3 separate regions of the Homo sapiens genome follow, and all the other regions are linked to region 3. Evidence: promoter capture Hi-C in human tissues and cell types (Jung and others, 2019). All regions are on one chromosome and are shown on one strand. The core of a region is centred on a gene start or on the middle of the fragment in contact, and the rest is flanking DNA. Distances in the headings are between cores, read along the strand shown. Region 1 overlaps SLC25A12 (solute carrier family 25 member 12). Region 2 overlaps DYNC1I2 (dynein cytoplasmic 1 intermediate chain 2). Region 3 holds the start of METAP1D (methionyl aminopeptidase type 1D, mitochondrial).

The links. Contacts are between HindIII fragments. The study calls those that stand out against the background at their distance.
Region 1: a fragment that was not itself captured here is called in contact with the fragment with the promoter of METAP1D in region 3 in 4 of the 25 tissues and cell types used here (H1 embryonic stem cells, heart left ventricle, liver and 1 more).
Region 2: a contact is called between a fragment that was not itself captured here and the fragment with the promoter of METAP1D in region 3, in 1 of the 25 tissues and cell types used here (IMR-90 fibroblasts).

Annotation. Positions count from the first base shown.
Region 1 is chr2:171,809,694-171,813,816 of GRCh38, reverse strand. It overlaps SLC25A12 (solute carrier family 25 member 12), which reads left to right. Exons shown (of 18, transcript NM_003705.5): 11 at 320-478; 12 at 3,541-3,593. Among named protein-coding and RNA genes, the nearest start is that of SLC25A12, 82 kb to the left of the region's middle. The HindIII fragment of the contact is 4,001 bases long and covers 553-4,123 here.
Region 2 is chr2:171,745,199-171,749,472 of GRCh38, reverse strand. DYNC1I2 (dynein cytoplasmic 1 intermediate chain 2) reads right to left here. Exons shown (of 18, transcript NM_001378.3): 17 at 3,546-3,671; 18 at 1-1,697. The coding sequence ends at 1,584. Among named protein-coding and RNA genes, the nearest start is that of DYNC1I2, 60 kb to the right of the region's middle. The HindIII fragment of the contact is 5,468 bases long and covers 1-4,274 here.
Region 3 is chr2:171,997,999-172,001,897 of GRCh38, reverse strand. METAP1D (methionyl aminopeptidase type 1D, mitochondrial) reads right to left here and starts at 1,945. Exons shown (of 10, transcript NM_199227.3): 1 at 1,889-1,945. The coding sequence starts at 1,928. LOC124905590 (a long non-coding RNA gene) reads left to right here and starts at 1,989. Exons shown (of 3, transcript XR_007087296.1): 1 at 1,989-2,219. RefSeq lists a silencer at 1,951-2,250. The HindIII fragment of the contact is 22,489 bases long and covers 1-3,899 here.

The DNA of each region.
Region 1 (4,123 bases), core at 1,304-3,803, 190 kb after region 3:
TTGTTACTATAGAAAACTGAGTGTTGATTATCTAATTTGGGAAGTGACTCGATAATCCACTCTGTAGTTTATGAACCTACGATATCAAAGAGCATTCTTGACAGTTGTTTTCTGAAGCAGCTGTATTTATGGATTTCAGTGCTTGCTATAGCCTGCTATCCCTAAGGTGTTTGTGAGGGAAAGAAAAATAATAAACTCTCTTTTGTGAGAATACATGTTGTGTTTTATTTTCTCATCCTTTAAGATAAGATTTGTCATCCTTATGGACTCTCCATTTAATTGTGTTCTTTTTTAAGCCTAAAAATTGTTCTGTTTGTAGCTGTGGGAGCCACTGCAGTGTATCCTATAGATCTGGTGAAGACCCGAATGCAAAACCAGCGTGGCTCTGGCTCTGTTGTTGGGGAGCTAATGTACAAAAACAGCTTTGACTGTTTTAAGAAAGTCTTGCGTTATGAGGGCTTCTTTGGACTCTACAGGGGTGAGTAAGCAAATCCCAGCTGCTGAAGTTAGTGATTTGATCTCACCAGCAGCAGATTTTAACTCACTAATTATGGAAGCCAATATGTAGTATGCCTAGCCAGACTAGGTCTGTTTCTCTCTTTTTATTTTCTCTTTGCTCATTTCCCTTTTTGCATTCTTTCTGGTGATTAGCAATATTAATCTGCAAATAAGGTCTTCATTTCTTCTTCTTGTGGTTTATATTTCTTGGTGTCCAAATTATGTGTTTGTCCCAACATGGGTCTATGTCACCATGCTCCTACAAACCAAGGCACATATCTGCAGGTGGAATACAAGGATGATAGTTAAGAAATATAGAGCTGCTTTTCTCAAAGAATTAAAGAGGAGAAATACATCTCTTTCCTGTGAAAAAGAATCCAGGTTACCACTCAAAGATGAGTTTACCCTCCATATATTTATTTCAACTGAAATAAATATCAAATGTTTTTGTCTCTTTCAGGGACCATTTATAAATTTTTTCCAATGAGCCATCTGAAGGTTTAAAAAAAAAAAAAAAAAGGAAAACCCTTTGGTTCCAAGTCTAATTCTTGCTTCTTTCCCCCACTTAGCTCAGAGGTGTACAGTCAAAACAGAGAGATTTTCTTTCGCAGGGAATGTTAGCAGCCACTCTAGACTGAGCACAGTGCAGTTGGCATCAGAGGCAGCACTGCGCCCCATGCAGAATTTTCCCCACCCCCCGTTGTCTTTGTAGGAACTTGTCTCTTTGGAGAGAGAATGACTTTCATGTATGTGTTTTCACATTAGAATATAGGGTTTCCTTTGGGAGGGAGATTAATTTTTTAATCTCTTTGGGCGCCACTTGGGATTCTATGAAAATACTCTCTACATGCTCAAGTCCATGCCATTTATGTAATTTACTGTACTTGTTTGTTTGCACATACAAGCTCATTAATCCCTAGCCTATTCTGAGCTCTGTTGAACTATTTGGCTTAGAAATCTTCCTAAGAAAGACTGGGCCCGAACAGAGCTTTATGCTCATGGACAGGAGGAAAAAAACACCGCTGGTTAGCATTATATACAGGTATTCAAGCAAAAAATATAACTCCGATAAACTCATAATTGAAGTAGAGGGTCACAAGGATGTTCATTTTTAGCATTATATATAGAATAATAGGAGAGAGTTATTCCGAAATCAAACTAGGCTCAAGTACCCTGCTCTTGAGAATGAATGTGATGAGTTTTCCTCAAATATTCAGAACTGTAGTCTCTTTGAATTCCACCTGTACAGCATGTACCCTGTGGAAAGGCGTACAATATCCAGAATGCAGACCTTTCCATGTGAATGCTTGTTTTAACTGATTAAACCCTGCATATCCAGATTTTATTTAATGGGGAATCAAGGTTGAGTGGCATTAAGGTTGTTTTTTTCCTTGATATCTCCAATATTTCTTTGTTGAATAATGACCTTTCTCCTCTTTGGTATACTTTTAAATTGCAAAGAAAATGTCCCCTATTAAAAGGAACCTAGATATTTACTGCATAGTTTAGCCTTCTCAATGGATAGATGCTTACAGAAGATTTCATTTGAGAGAGATGTCATGTTTATTAAATGGATGCAATATAGCAAGTAGGGGAGGGGATTGTTGGTTTTATTCAGGATGTAAGCTCATAAAAGCAGTTCTTTAAATGAGAGACTTTTGTATTAGGGAGAAGATTGTAGGAGTCCTGTATGTGAGCACTATGATTATTGAGATTGTCATATATTGCTTGCAACTGGTCCATTATTCTGTCAGATGATTGACAAAATTGTTGACAGATTAGCTAAATTTCTTCGCAGGCAACAATGATAAAATGACACAAATCAGTACTTTATTAAATTCCATGAGCCTTATTGAGGCGAGTTGTAAAACAAATATGCATGCTGACATGGTTGTATGGGAGTTAGATTAAAAGTAATAGAGCCTGATAATCACGAGGGTTAGAAAGTTAATACTGCCATCTGCTGATTTGTTCTTTTAAATCAGTCTGCTACGCATGAAAGGTGTGTGAGGCTTTGTGTGTATCATTGATAATTCAGCCTGACTGACAGTAGCCTATATGTATGATTACTTGTGGCTCTCAACTTATGGAACTCAGCAGTATCCTCAAAGCAGGCTTAAGATCAGCAGTCAGCAAGCAGGCAAACACATATATAACTCCCCTTTGGCTGGATGATTTAAAGGATATAAAATGTTTATTGTTAGCATCTTTAAAAAATGTATGCAAAAAAGTATGCTAACAATTTGGATAAGCTGTGTGCTTTAGAAAGCTGAGCCCAACAGATGTTGAATTGTTTATTTTTTTCTTTTCCAGTTTACAACCAGCCTGGGGAATTTAACTTTCTAAGGATTATGATTTCCTTTGTTTTGAGGGGATTCTTTTAAAATGTCTTAAGCTTGACATATATTAGTCAATAAGAATACAACAGGCATATGTTTTTGCTTATAGGAGATACTCGTTAAACAATACTTAAAACTGCATTTTTCTTTGCAGTTTTGGCTTCCTTTTAAATAAATGAATATTGAATGCTGTGTTTCTCTGAAGAGAAGATTATGGGAGTTAGTATTCTATAATAACGAAGCCACTGTATGCCATTATGTAGGTAGCAAAATCTGGGTATGCTTAACAGCATGCTTTTCAGAGCTTTTCCAAGTGTACAGTATCTGTGTATGTTTATATGTTGTTGGTTGTAATAAGGGAGGGAATTTGGTTACATTGTTATTGGCAGTGTTCCCAGAATAGAGAAGACGCATGGCTCCGTTTCTTCTTCATGGACTTTTTGGGAAGTGTTGGATAACTAGGCTTTAAAGTAAGCATGCTTAAGAAGAGGATTTATAGCCTCAAGAAAACGTGACATTATACTGCATTTGTAAATAATTATTACATATGTATACAGAGTTTTAAGGATAATCTTTTTCCCATTTTAATGAAAACTCTGCAATGTTTGATGGGTAAATAATATGGGGGAAACTCTTTGTTGCTGGGCTTGTGTATTCATGTCTGGTACAGCTATATTGCTGATGATTCTGTCCCTTTACCTAGGTCTGATACCACAACTTATAGGGGTTGCTCCAGAAAAGGCCATTAAACTGACTGTAAGTTTATCTCTAACTGAATTTATGTCATTTGTTTAGATTACCATTAAGCCAAAAAGCTAAAATCAAGGCTAGGCGTGGTAGCTCATGCCTATAATCTCAGCATTTTGGGTGGTGGGAGGATCACTTGAGACCAGTTCTAAACCAGCATAAGCATAGTAAGAACTCAGCTCTACCAAAACAACAACAACAACAACAAAATTAAAAATTAGCCAAGTGTGGTGATTTATGCCAGGAGGCTGATGTGGGAGGATTGCTTGAGTCCAGGAATTTGAGGCTGTAGTGAGCTATGATCATGCCACTGCACTCCAGCCTGAGCAACAGAGTGAGACCCTGTCTCAAAAACAAAACTAAAATTGATGCTGCTGACACTGGCACACTGTCGCAGAATTTGTACAACTTTAATTTTACATGTAAGCATTTGATAATTTTAAATTTTATCATAAGACAAATATTTTGCTGACTTGGAAAAGCAACAGTATGCCAGAAGAGAAATGGTTGGGAATTTTGGTTAACTGATGTTGTCTTTC
Region 2 (4,274 bases), core at 920-3,419, 250 kb after region 3:
AGTTTTGACTCACAGACACTGCTACAATGAGATAACTTGAGATATTGTCTTTGGTATATAATGGGCAATTATGGGGTATTAATTTATGAAACTGAATATAGAAAAGTAAAGAATTGCCTACTTTTCTATATTCCATTTCACATACTGATACCCCTTAATTGAGTAGAGCTGAAAGAAAATTCAGAAATCATTAAATCAAAACTTAATTCCTACATATAAAGAATGCGGCACAGACTTGGCTAAAATCACACTTCTCATAGATGCTTCAGCAAGAATCAGAGTTTGGGGCCAATAATTCCAGGTCAATTATTCCTTACACTATACACTACTCATTATTTGGAAATTTCTCTCCCAACAAATCTTTGTTACAATTATTAAAAGAAAAATGTTCACATTCTGTTTTCTAATCTCTCTTCCTAGTTCATGTTCTGTTGAATAAAAGACAGTTACACTTCAGAAGTACAAAAGGTTGGGATCAAATAAATAGACAATTTAAAGTAGATAAAATCAAGATCTGATCATAGTCCTTTCCTCTATTCCTGAAATTCACTGATTTCAATACTGATTCTTAGATATTTGTCACCTACCTTTCGGACTTGTAGACAATGCTGTGGCAACAGATCTCAAGATGTAGATTTTAATGCCAAAGTATGGGTCCATTTGAGCACTTTGCCTTTATGGCTACTGAAATCATGAAATCAATTTCTCTCAAAGATTTTACTCTCAGTGAGGTCACATACATAGTTCTTAATCAGTGAAAATTATAGGCAGCTTTCTATTTATCCTTTAAAGGAAATATGTCTTAGATGGAAAGAATATAAAGTAGTAAAGCAAAAGTTAACCTAGGGGAAATTTTTTCACCAACAGATTATCTAGACATCAATTCATAATGCACTGGGAGATCTATAGTATATACCACATGGTATATTTAGGGTACACAGCTCTATAGGATTTGAGATGGCTGCTCACAGCAGGAGCTTAAAGAAAGATATGGAAAAAATATATTTTATAAAAGATGGAAAAATTCAAGTTGTAAGGAGTAAAAATGAAAATTTGAAAAGTTAACGCATATTTGTTTTTATTTATAGGTAACTACCACATGAATTATAAAGACAACAAAGGATGTCAGAATGAACATGGATAGGTGTATGCATACTACGGCTAAGGAGAAACAATGTTCCTACATATTATGGGTAGTGAGAACATTATCTGTATAACAGGGAACTGTGATTATTTAAAAATATGCAGAACTTATTTCATCTGTGCTTTAGAAATAACTGTATACAGTGTTATAAGTTGAAAAGAACTCAAAATAACTAATACCAAATATACACCTATGTATTAGAATTCAAAAAAGCTGCTTTCTGTGAAGTCAATCAGCTATATTAAAAAATGACACAAATCCAAAACAAGATGCATGTTATATATAAAGGGACATTGTAAGTTTCCTTGCTGCATTAAACCCATGGTTTAATCCATGAAATTTCCTTTTAATTATCATTTAGACAGAAGCATGCAAATAGTCTCAGGATCTACTTAAGAACCTTTCCCAAATCCACTAGTTACACTCCCCTTTTCAGGAACTAAGCAGGTATTCGGGTAGCTGCTTCCTCCTCTGCATCAGCTCGGTTTGCATTAATTTCTGCAAGTGTTCGGCCAAACCGTGCCCATTCATCATTGCGGGGAACAGCAATCTGCTGTTAAAAGAAAGACAATGTTTTATATACAATGAAATAAAAGATCATTTTACCCACTATTATTCAGTTTGTTTTCAAATAATTTTTCTGTTAAAAAGTAATAATTGACCTGAATGGCCTTTCCATAATTACGGGGACTATAACAATGATTTACAACATTTCAAAACAAAAGACGGTGTTTGTGAAGTGTGTTGTGACAGCCTCAGAAATGACTTGGCTATTATCACCACCAATGCAAGAGAGAATAACAATGATGCTTTGTAAATATAACTCCTATGCACCATCTCATGGATTTTGCTGGAGAGGAATTCCTTAAAATTTTTTTTTTACTGTATTCTTGCAAAATTCCTAGTAAGAAACAGTGTTTGAAGCATGGTTCATAAGGGGGCTCGTTTCTTGTAAGTATTTTTCTTTGGAACATAAGGTAATCTTTCTTGATACCTTAACTCCTTCATCAAAAGCTGTGCTACTATTTACCACTTTAGTGCTGCACTGGTGGCAAAAGAGCCTTGTGATGCTTTACTTCAGAGGCAGCCCAATAACATATATATATATATATATATATATAATTTTTTTTTTTTTTTGAGACAGTCCCACTCTGTTGCCCAGGCTGGAGTGCAGTGGCACTATCTTGGCTCACTGTAACCTCTGCCTCCCAGGTTCAAGTGATTCTCCTGCCTCAGCCTCCCCAGTAGCTGGGATTACAGGTATGTGCCACCATGCCTGGCTAATTTTTGTATTTTCAGTAGAGATGGGGTTTTGCCATGTTGGCCAGGCTGGTCTCGAACTCCTGACCTCAGGTGATCCACCCGCCTCATCCTCCCAAAGTGCTGGGATTACAGGTGTGAGCCACTGCGCCCGGCCCCAATAACAAATATTTTTGATAACTGCCATTATAATATCATAGGAGTCTGACACTGTCATGTTAGGGCACAAACCACTCACTGTGGCAAATGGCTGTGCCTGTTTATAAATCTACACTATCCAGTAGGGTAGCTACTGGCCACATGTGACTGTGTATATTAAAATTAATTAAAATTAAAAATTCAGTTACGCAGTTGTAGTAGCAACACTTAGAGTGTTCAATAGCCATATGTGGCTAGAAGCTACCATATTAGTGCAGGTACAGAACATTTCCATTTGTGCAGATAGTTTAATTGGCTGCTGTAAATGATTAAATCTACCTCCCACCAGATCCAATTGCTAGAGGCCATGGGATATCCAGAGAGGAGAGAAATCATGAGGCATAGCAAAGGAAAGTGACTAAGGTCACTTTTTTAACCCCTAGCCAGGGTTAAAAAAGAGGAAATCCATCCTGGGCTTTGTGTTCAGCCAATCAGAGCAGCAAAGATGAGAGAGCTGCAGCTCATCCTATTGGATTCCATTACTGTGGCTTTGCATCAAGGCTTAAGAGTCAAGATGCACATTGCATAAAGTCACAGATGGTTCTCAAAAGATACTACTTTTGGTTTCTACTACCTGGCCCAAATTAATGAATACAGAAAAATAAATCTTATTTCAATATCAATAAAACCCCAAAGTCCACCTATAACTCCAAACTTCTCCCCAAAGAATTTCTAATTTCCAGCAATGCATGCTTCAAGAAACAAGGTATTTTCAATGTATTTATTGTATTACCCTCAAAATCTGTTGCATGGGAAACAGAACATTCGGTTTAGAAAGAAAATGTTTCAAGAGCTGCTTCTGTGGTAGAAAGTAAGTTTTATCTTTACAACCATATAGTTTAAACAACTCATAAACCTCAAAGCCTAGGGTTAGCCACAAAGATGCCTTTACTACAATGCAACTAAATCGATGTGTCAAAATTACAGGCAGGGAGTCCCATACCTCTCCCACATCGTATATAACAATCTGTCCTTCAGAATCACCCACAGCAATCTCTCTGCCAGAATGGGTCCATCTCACACGATTAAGAGCAGGATTACCCTCCACAGAAATGCTGGCAGTTGGTACCTAAAGTCATTTAAAATAAAGGACAGTGTTAAAAGTTTCATCAAGATTTCTATAAACATGTAAAACAGTAATTCTTCTCTCAAGCTGGCTACATTTTTAAAAACAAAGATGAAAACAGGTAAGAATTTCCCCAACTTTCTTCTTCTTCAGTGATATATTATGAATGACATTATAGTCGATCCTTGAAAATGGTTTGGGAAAATAAGTCTTTGTATAAAAAATTCTCAGAAGACTAGACACATTATTTTGAAAGGTCTTCTCTTGAATAAAGAATCCTTTTTTGTTGTTTTAATGTCTTTAAGAAGTCAAGCTGTTTGAAAACACATGGCCAAAACCCATTTAAAAAGAAAACACTTCAAAAGCCCTCATAAGCAGATTATGGTTCAGTTGTAAAGGACAAGAATCACTTGTGCAGCATGTATCTCTATCAGCTGAAACCTGTATTTGACTCAGTGTTCCTAGAAACGGTTCATACTGAAGGTGCAGTATGAGTCTGTCTAAAGCCTCTTGTTCCATGAGCTAGCTGGAGATAGCCAGGATGATGGCACCAACACAATGGCACCAGCTCCCTGGAATCTGACTGTGCCTCTTCTTTGCTAAGGA
Region 3 (3,899 bases), core at 696-3,195:
CTTGAACTCCTGGCCTCAAGTGATCTGCCCGCCTTGGCCTCCCAAAGTGCTGGGTAATATTACAGGCATTAGCCACCTTGCCAGGCCTGGCACCCAGATCTTGAGAGATGTAAATTGGCTGTCTTTTCACAAGGCTACACTCTCATGCTGATGTCCATTCCTTCATGCAACCAGTCCAAAATGCTCGCTACATCACCTTCCCCATACACATCTCTCCCCTCAAATCTTCCTGTGGCCCCTTTCTCATCTCCACTAACACTGAAATACTGAAGTCTATTCGATTACCAACCTTCTTCCTCTCTAAAAATATCTTCCTCTTCACTTCTTATTTTTTATTATTTTTATTTATTTTTTTTTTCTGAGACGGAGTCTCGCTCTGTCGCCCAGGCTAGAGTGTAGTGGTATGATCTCAGCTCACTGCAACCTCCACCTCCTGGGTTAAAGCAATTTTCCTACCTCAGTCTCCCGAGTAGCTGGGATTACAGGCATGCGCCACCACGCCCAGCTAATTGTGTATATTAGTAGAGACGGGGTTTCACCATGTTGGCCAGGCTGGTCTTGAACTTCTGACCTCAAGTGAGCCACCTGCCTCGGCCTCCCAAAGTGCTGGGTTTACAGGTGTGAGCCACCGTGCCCAGGCTCTCTTCACTTTTTGTACACACTCATCCTGCACTGTCTCTGCTGAACTTTACACACTGACTTCTATGGAGTGACCACGTCATGCAGTACCGAGAAATGAGTCTTAAAAAAAAAAATTAGAGTCATGTTCAAATGAGCAATCTGCCTCTTACCATTTATGCGACCTTAGTAATGTTACTTAACCTCTCTAGCCTTACTTTTCCCTTCTGCAAAGAGAAAATAATTCCTAACTCACTGGGTTTTTGTTTTTGTTTTTGAGACAGGGTCTGGCTCTATTGCCAAGTCTGGAGTTCAGTGGTACGATCACGGCTCACTGCAGCCTCTTGACCTCCCAGGCTCAAGCGATCCTACCACCTCAACCCCCAGAATAGCTGAGACTACAGGCATGTGTCACCACGCCCGACTAATTTTTAAAATTTTTTGTAGAGACGGGGTCTCATTCATTGAGTTTTAAAAGGAAGCAAGCATATGTAAGGCGCTTAACACAGTATCGTGTACTTAAAAGGCACTTAATAAACAGTAGCTGTTACTATGAAAATAATATTTACCTCACAAAACTGTTCCTACATGCCTGACGCTTAAGTAGCTCCTCAAAATATGATAGTTTTCCTCTTCCCCCGTCCTTGGAAAAACTTTCTAGTTCTTTCCAACAAAGATTCAGCACCTAGTTCAAATCCAACAAAGATTTCCCCAATTCTGCTGCAAAGGCATTTGTATATTTACTAAAATCTCAACACTCACGCAGGATAAAACCTACTTAGAACTACCCAGACATCCTTTCTTATCTTCTTAACTTTAAGTCACTGGAAGAAAACCATCACATTTTGCAAGTCCCCAAAAAGCATGCCTGCATAAAAGCTCTAGGGAAGGGAACCGGGTGTCCAGATGCATTTCAGAATTACCATAGGTTTCCTTGCTCGGCATACAGAATAAATGTTGGTTACACTAATGATACAACCGAAGTTGGGGAAAAAAACTTCAGACAATGGCCCGCAAATCTCAAGGAGTAATTGCGAAAAGATGCCACGTGGTGACGTGTTCTAGGCGGGTGATCAGTGAACAAATTTGTATGTGTGATCCTGTGGTGTGTGAATGTGTCATCGTGTGTGCCTGCGTGTGTTCGTAAACACTGAAAGTACAGTCGTGTGCGCCGAGAAGTCTGAGCGCGGGTGCGCATCCCTTTGGACCCGGGTGCGTACCTAGTGAGCAACCGTGCGAACCCTCACGGGGCTCTCCTCCACGCGCTTACCTCTGCGGACGAGCAGGTGGACGCCACTGGGCGCCGCCATGTTGGCGTCGGTCACGTGGCCGCGAGCACTCGCTCGCCGCCCCGCCCGCTGGAGCCGGCCAGTCGCAGCCCTGCCGAAGCCCTGAGGCGTCGAGGCCGCCCGAGGGGAGCGCGCGTGCGCGCGCGGGGCTGACTGCGGGAGCCCTGGCTGGGAAGCGGCTAGGGCACCCGGGCAAGCAGCAGAACCCGCGGCCGGCTGAGTCCTCTCCAGCCGCGAGAGGCGGGCTCCAGCCGCGGCTCGCGCGCTCGCTCTGAGCCCCCGCGCCCAGGTGGGATGGAAGAAGCCTGTCAGGTAAGCGTGGCATCCAATATTTATAGCATCAACATTTTGGTGCATGGAAACGTGAAGTTGGGCGGAAAAAATAAAGCACAATCTAGTGTTCAACATAGCACTTTGTATCGTCTGCCACTCTGTTGCAAATTATTCCCCTGGATTCAGTTGAAAGGTAAAATTTGGTTCAAAGTCACCAGCTCCCCTTTTGCTGTCCCAGAATCTACATTACTCAGCAGAGACTCCAGACAACACAGGATCTGTGTGTCGCTGCAAAATCTATTCTAGGTACCCCAGTGGGTATGTTCAGGAGACTTCTCTTTCTCCAAGGACGCCTTCTGCTTGGCAGTATTAACTGGAGTCTTAATCCTAAATTTGGAGTTTAAGTATAAAAGGATGACGCCTGCCAATTGCATTGCCAAGAGAAGAAGCCTACAGAAGGCCAATTGTGAATCAGATGAGGGAGCTGATGTATGCCTACTGATGACGGTGCCCATTTTTACCAAATTCACTGTCTCTCTTACCTGTGTTCTGGGGTAGATGCCATCCTGTCATGGACCAGGTGTTATTCATCTTAGTAGCCTCCGTGCCCGGCACAGAACCCGATACCCGAGGAATGTCAGGTGAAGCAATTGAACACTGCATGAAACCAGTCAAACTGAGAATGTAACCGTTTCCAGACTTTAAATGCAGTGAAGATTGATTAGGATTCTCAGTGAATGTGTGTGATGTCTTCTAATTAATTTTTAAGCACTACACACTCAGTGAATAATCTAGACAATTCAGAACAATTCAGAAATAAGGAACAAGTGCAAGCCCCTTCCTCGCCCTCTGTACATACCATAGTCCCACTCCCCAGTTAACCACCGTGTGCTCAATTGAGATCTTTGCCTTTTACACACAGGCAAATGTAAGTATTTTAAATAGAATCATATGACTTGCTTTTTCCATTCCAGTCATCATAGGCATCAAATCTTAGAACACTTAGTTCAGACTTATTCTTTTTAATGACTATATAATCTTGATATTTTTACTTTTAAAGAGAGTGAATGTTGGCATTTCATTAGAGGACACATGCTATAATTCTGGAAAACCTGGTTTTGGATGCTTTTGGGTCACCTTGAAAGATAAAGAGAAGTAATGCTTTCCATCAGGGTAAATAAGATGCACAAGAATGAGAATAAAATGTACTCCTACCTTTTGCAAACTCATTTCAATTCCAGGGAGAGCATTTTTGAATGTGGCAAATCTGTCCTCTGTGTAACTGAGGCCAGCAATCTGAGTGCAGCAAAGGAGCCTGAGAGTTAGCTGGCCACAGAGTCTTAAGCAGTGTACAGAAAAAAGAAATCTAGACATCCCTATTCCTTAAGGCATCAAGCCTAGTTTCAAACCCATCTGAAATAGAACACATGTTCATGTGACTTAACTCAGCCAACCCTTGGAAAATAAATGAATGCTTTATTCCCCTACAACTAAAAGGAAAAGGAAACACTATGAGGACCCAGGTGGCACCAGCAGTAGTGGAATCCAGTGAGGAAATCCTCAATAAGTTCGGCATGGAATGTAGATATCTGGGATGAGCTAGAAATGAAGCAAATATGAACTTGCACAGGTGATAGCTCATCCACTGACCCTGGATCTGGCTTCTCTCATACACATCCTTCTCACCGCAGAAGGGTTAAAAGCTGCCAGCACATGTCC